2 separate regions of the Homo sapiens genome follow, and region 1 is linked to region 2. Evidence: promoter capture Hi-C in 16 types of primary human blood cells and fetal thymus (Javierre and others, 2016). All regions are on one chromosome and are shown on one strand. Each heading gives the region's core, a stretch centred on a gene start or on the middle of the fragment in contact. The rest is flanking DNA. Distances are from core to core; before and after follow the strand shown. Region 1 overlaps GGACT (gamma-glutamylamine cyclotransferase). Region 2 holds the start of ZIC5 (Zic family zinc finger 5).

Evidence for each region. The method cuts DNA at HindIII sites, captures the fragments that hold promoters and counts their contacts. A CHiCAGO score of 5 or more calls a contact.
Region 1: a fragment that was not itself captured here is called in contact with the fragment with the promoter of ZIC5 in region 2 in 1 of 17 cell types (M2 macrophages); the score reaches 6.0 in M2 macrophages.

What each region holds. Positions count from the first base shown.
Region 1 is chr13:100,534,092-100,536,889 of GRCh38, reverse strand. The region is part of intron 2 of GGACT (gamma-glutamylamine cyclotransferase); the gene reads left to right. Among named protein-coding and RNA genes, the nearest start is that of GGACT, 53 kb to the left of the region's middle. The HindIII fragment of the contact is 7,689 bases long and covers 1-2,798 here.
Region 2 is chr13:99,969,851-99,973,560 of GRCh38, reverse strand. It overlaps ZIC5 (Zic family zinc finger 5), which reads left to right and starts at 1,794. Exons shown (of 2, transcript NM_033132.5): 1 at 1,794-3,434. The coding sequence starts at 1,958. The HindIII fragment of the contact is 20,418 bases long and covers 1-3,710 here.

The DNA.
Region 1 (2,798 bases), core at 187-2,686, 560 kb before region 2:
GCTTCCCCTCACACCTGGCAGAGGATGGCGGGTTCCTTTCTGGAGAGCCTGACAAGAACACCTCCGCTGGGGACACAGGCCTAGCTGAGTGGTGGTGAGGTGGCACCCTGAAAACAAGCATTGGGGGAAAGTGCAGAGCTCCCAGCGCCGCTCCCCAGAGTCCCGTGTGAGGCCTGCCACCTGACAGCTCAGCCTCACTTCCAAAGAGTGGCTCAGCTTTCCCAGCCAAGATCACATGTGAAGAAAATCTCTTGAAACACAGATACCAAAACAGAGAGAAAAGAGGGAGTTAGGAGAAATGGAGGCAATGAAGGGAATGAAGAAAACTTAAAAAATATATATATATTGAGCCTGTGAATGAACAAGAAGTTGAAAAAAAAAACACACAACAAGAAAAATATATTGGAAATAAATATCATGGCAAAAAAATTTTTAATAGAAGAAATGCAAGATAAAGCAGAATATAATATAGACCTGGAGGAAAGGAGAAAATATAAAAACATTGGAGGCTGAAGTCAGGACCTCCACTGCCGGAATATTGGGAGAGCCAGAAAGAGAACAGAGAGGAAGGAGGGGTAAGAAAATGCCCCCGTGATCCAGGATAAGGAGCATTCAGATCAAAATTCCAGCACAATCAATGAAAACAGAGTCTACATCATCAGAAAATTCTAGAATCTGAGGGATAAAAGGAAGCCCTTAAGAGCCTCCAGGGAAGAGCTCGAGTCACACACACAGGGGACCTGGATCACAGCACACTGACTTCTCTGCAAGAACTCGGAAAGTTAGAAGACAATGAAGAAATGTCTTTAAAGTTCTGAGGGAAATGATTTCTAGAATCCTCTACGCAGCCATGTTATTAACCAAAAGTGGGAGAGAATACACTTCAGCAAAATGTGGCCAACATCCCAGCCAGAGGACGGGACAGGAATGAGGGTGGCCTGGATGGCAGCGACACAGAGAGCCCAGACTAGAGCTGGCAGGGAGGACCTTCCAGCGGATGGTCAGGACCCGGGTTCTGGCCATGCTCTCAGAAACTGCGAGGCTGAATTACAATCCTAGAAACTAAGCGAAATGCAAAACAAACAAAAAAAACAAACTTGAAGCAATTTTTAATTTCAAGGAAAACATAAAGTTGTCCAAGAAAGGAAATGTAATCATAGTATGCTCTGTGTCTTAGCCAAGAGCCGTGTTTGCATGGTTCTAATGCCGAAATAGATCTGGGTCTGACCCAAAACTATGATGAGTCTGTTGGGAGGATGGCGGGATGTGGTAGGAGAGCCAAGGGTCAGGCTTCTACAGTGATGACAGCAGCGGCACACGCTACATGTCAGCAGATCACACAGGACCACGTGTGTTGGTACCCACCGCGGTCTCTGAGGCAGGCTGCTACTGTGACTTCAGTTTACAGTTGAGGAAGCTGAGGCACAGAGAGGTTATATGATCTGCCTAAAGTCACACAGTTAAAGTCTGTGCTTTAGAACCACTATGCTCACCCACTTTTTGAGTAGAAGGGCAAGATATGATTTAAGACATCAAGAAGTAGCAGCGTAAGTAACAATATGGAGATAAATGCTGAACACAACAGTTAAAAGCCTTAAAAGTGTTGCCTCCAGGGAGTGGAAAGGGGTAGGAAACTTCATTTTTCTTACAAAGCAATCTATTGACATTTTGGACACATGCCATTTTAAAAAACTGCATCAGGGAAAGCCAGGCAGGCACCTGGCAGTGGAGAGCTGGTCTGCAGTGTGACTACGGCCCTGCCCGGCTGGCTGGTCCTAGATCGCCACCAGCCTGGGACTCGGCTTCCTCACCTGCAGGTGCTGGACCAAACAGTTTCCAAGTTCTCTTCTGGCCCTTCATGTTCCAGCAACAAACAAGACCAGTGATTTAGAGAGCACGTGTGCTATAACGACAACCAGACAGAGTGATGTGACAGACTGAGTAGGCCCTGCCTACTACTCCTGCACCCTCCAGGTCAGGCGCTGGTCGGGGCAGGAGCCACCTGGATGAGGGGAGAGAGGGTGCAGGAGATGAGGTGGGAGAGTTAAGTCTGCAGCAGGAGATTGACAAGGACCCTCTGGGTGGTGCACTGGGGGCAGGATCCAGGGGAACAAAGACAACAGGGATGCAGGCAGGCATTGGAGGAGGAGAGCAGGTTGGGAGACGTGGCAGGGGAAGTGCTGATGGGTCTCGCTGGGGGCTGGGATGCAGGTGTGGGGAGGGACATGAATCCTTCCAAATGCTGAGTCCCCAAGGCAGCTGCACAGCAGGATCCAAACCATCATCGCCCCCCAGGTGCTCGTCTTTTGGGATAGCTCCTTGCCCGCTGTTGTAGACAGCTGCTTCCATCCAGTGCCCTCTCCAGACACCAGCGCTGCTCTCAGCTGGTGCCTTTTGTCATTTTCACGTACACCCCAGCAGCCGAGTCCTGGCAATTTTAGGCCTGAGCACTTGCCTCTTCTCTTCCTCAGTACCGTCCTACCCCAGGTTCTCCTTAATTCACATCTCAACTTTCCTATCCCAGCATGCCCCCCAGGTCTAATCTGTGTCCCCACACTGGGAAGGGTGTCCCAGGGCTATCACATGGCCAGGCCCACAGGGCGCACGTATCTGGCTAGCCTTGTGTTTTTCCCACGGCCACACCTTTCCTAGTGCAATGTGCCTGAAATCTGGGGAATACTGTTGTTGCACAGGCTGGTGATAGAACCAAGAGGCAGCAGACGTGCCTCTTGAGCAAAATGAGGCCTAGAACCCCCCAGAGCAGCTCTTGTTTGCTGAGAAGAAAACAGAAGTCCCAT
Region 2 (3,710 bases), core at 545-3,044:
TTTATTAAAATTTTTTCGTTGTGTTTCCACACATGCCTTTAATTCCCCATATTTGAACTTCATTGCAACTTAAAGAAAAAGTCCATTTGAAATTTGATGGTAGCATTGTCTTTGTTTGCTTGTCAGTTTTATAAAAGAAATGACATTCCTAAGTCTCATACCGAAGCCCCCTGTTAAACATCGTTCACACCAATGTGAATGGCACTATCGAATCAACTCTTTTCAGAATATTTCTGATTACTTCCCACGGCCATCTCCCCAATAACGGCTTTGTGCAGTCTACTTTTACTTGGACTGCAAATGAATTAAGTTGGAAACATATTTTATTGTATCCCCAAAGAAAAAGATCACATTCTAATCATTATCACTTTTTTTTTTTTTACAAGTAATGTTACGGATGACAGCAAAATACAAATTTTAAAATCCTGGCTTTAATATTTGAGCATTTTGTAACATCACAAATTTCAAAAATGCTTTCTTTTAAAATCTGAAAAGGACACTTTTGGGGCAGTAAAATCCTTAATTTGGGGGGAGGGTCCCACATTTCTCCGCCCACCAAAAAGTGATGCAGGGAATTTCTATTTTTAAAAAATCGATTTGATACCAAACCTCTGGAAAGGGATGGGATTCGCTTTTTTAAAAGCCAGTTTTTATGGTTTTCAAATAAGACATCTTAGAGGTAGACTGGTTTATGAGAAAACGATAAAAAGGTGAAAGATTATTCTATCAGTAAATAAAAAGCAAAGATATTTCTTGATTTCAAAATAATATTTTATTGGATCAGTTCTAATTGTGGATCAGTCAAAGAAACTGAGGCATACATGTGGACTGTGGACTGGGATCTGGACCGGAAGGAGAAATTCTACTTAAAGGACGGTGCTTATTTAGCGGCTTCTCTCTGCAGAGATGCCGTTTGGCCTGCCCCGCCACTGTATCTCCGAAAGGCAAAAGTTAGAATCGCTGCCCGATCTCCTCTCCCCCGCCCCTACTGTAGATCTAATTGGAAGTGGCAGATCTAGAACCGATGAGTAGTGAGATTACACTTCCATCCAACTCCTTTGAACCATGTTGAAAAGGACTCTCCATGAGATAAAAAGTCGAGGTAAAACGGTTCCTTTGGGGGAAAGACTTATTTTGACTTCACCTGGTGTTTCGCGGAGCCAAATCACTCAAGTTGTCTTGCAACCAATAGACTTTATCTTCTTCACTCCGTCTACTGTCTATGCGCCCTAGGTGAGCGCTAGGCAGGTTGGGTGTCCAAACAAGAAGTTTCTAGCATCACCACTACAGGTAGGACGGGCTATTCACCCTTCTCTCCCAAACAGCAGCCCAGGGCTCTTCCACCCCACAAGAGAGGTGGAGGTAGAGGCAGAAAGTACTTGGGTGCCAGAAGGCACACAGAGAAGTGAGGCCAAGGTTTTTGAAACTGGGACTGCCCCTCGGGGGTCCTCAGCCCCTCACCACCCCGCGCCCTCTGCCCGCGTGCCGGCGCGCGCTCCGCGAGGTGCGTCAAGGAAGAGCGGGGCGCTGCGCGCGCAGGCCAGGCTCAAACTTTCTGCAAGTGCAACTTGGGCATCCCCGGGGAGGCGGGGACGTGTGGCTCCAGCGGAGGAGGGGGCGCGAAGCGAAAGCGCAGGCGGCCGCAAGCACGGGGGCGAATCCCCGCTGGGTCGAGGGCCTGAACGGGAGCCAATCGAGCAGCCGAGGCTACTGCCAATCACGCGGCTCCCTCCAATCCCACCCGTGCCATTTCCAAAATCTCGGTCCCACTGTGCAGCTCAAATGTGGTGTTCACTCTGCCAATCGCTGGAGGATAGAGTGGGAACAGGAATAAGCAGAGTTAAGAGGCCAGGACAAAAGAAGTTAAAGAGCGCCCAATACATACATGTTTTTGAAGGCGGGCAGAGGGAATAAAGTCCCCCCAGTGAGGGTCTATGGGCCTGATTGTGTAGTTCTGATGGAGCCCCCTTTGAGCAAGAGGAACCCGCCAGCGCTGAGATTAGCGGATTTGGCAACGGCTCAGGTCCAGCCGCTTCAGAATATGACAGGCTTCCCGGCGCTGGCCGGCCCGCCCGCCCACTCCCAACTCCGGGCCGCCGTCGCGCACCTCCGCCTGCGGGACCTGGGCGCTGACCCCGGCGTGGCCACCACTCCGCTCGGACCCGAGCACATGGCCCAGGCGAGCACGCTGGGCCTCAGCCCTCCCTCCCAGGCGTTCCCGGCACACCCGGAGGCTCCGGCAGCCGCCGCCCGTGCTGCAGCCTTGGTCGCGCACCCCGGCGCGGGCAGCTACCCCTGCGGCGGGGGCAGCAGTGGCGCGCAGCCCTCCGCGCCCCCGCCCCCAGCCCCTCCTCTTCCTCCCACCCCTTCACCCCCTCCCCCTCCCCCGCCTCCTCCTCCTCCTGCCCTCTCGGGCTACACCACCACCAACAGTGGCGGCGGCGGCAGCAGCGGCAAAGGCCACAGCAGGGACTTCGTCCTCCGGAGGGACCTTTCCGCCACGGCCCCCGCGGCGGCCATGCACGGGGCCCCGCTCGGAGGGGAGCAGCGGTCCGGCACCGGCTCCCCCCAGCACCCGGCCCCGCCTCCCCACTCGGCCGGCATGTTCATCTCCGCCAGCGGCACCTACGCGGGCCCGGACGGCAGCGGCGGCCCGGCGCTCTTCCCCGCGCTGCACGACACGCCGGGGGCCCCAGGCGGCCACCCGCACCCGCTCAACGGCCAGATGCGCCTGGGGCTGGCGGCGGCAGCGGCAGCCGCGGCGGCTGAGCTGTACGGCCGCGCCGAACCGCCCTTCGCGCCGCGCTCTGGGGACGCGCACTACGGGGCGGTTGCGGCCGCAGCGGCGGCCGCCCTGCACGGCTACGGAGCCGTGAACTTAAACCTGAACCTGGCGGCTGCGGCGGCCGCAGCAGCGGCCGGGCCCGGGCCCCACCTGCAGCACCACGCGCCGCCCCCGGCGCCGCCGCCGCCGCCGGCGCCCGCGCAGCACCCGCACCAGCACCACCCCCACCTCCCAGGGGCGGCTGGGGCCTTCCTGCGCTACATGCGGCAGCCAATCAAGCAGGAGCTCATCTGCAAGTGGATCGACCCCGACGAGCTGGCCGGGCTGCCGCCGCCGCCGCCGCCGCCGCCGCCGCCGCCGCCACCGCCCCCGGCCGGCGGCGCCAAGCCCTGCTCCAAAACTTTCGGCACCATGCACGAGCTGGTGAATCACGTCACGGTGGAGCACGTGGGAGGCCCCGAGCAGAGCAGCCACGTCTGCTTCTGGGAGGACTGTCCGCGCGAGGGCAAGCCCTTCAAGGCCAAATACAAGCTCATCAACCACATCCGCGTGCACACCGGCGAGAAGCCCTTTCCCTGCCCTTTCCCCGGCTGCGGCAAGGTCTTCGCGCGCTCCGAGAACCTCAAGATCCACAAGCGTACTCATACAGGTGGGTGTCTGTCCCCGGCCGCGCCGCCGCCGCCGCCACCAGCTCCTGCGCCGCCGCCGCTTCCGCCGCTGCTTCTCCTCCTCCTCCTGCTCGCCTTAATTTTTTTCTCCTTCTGCTGCTTCTCTTCGCATACGTATAACCCGGACATGTGACTTCTTTTTTTTTCTCTCCCCCCCTTTTTTTTTTCTATGAATAAGTAATTCGATAGCACACACAGGCCCCGCGTTGGGTTCCCACACGGCGGAGTCTCCAGCGCGCCCGCAGCCCCTCGGCCGG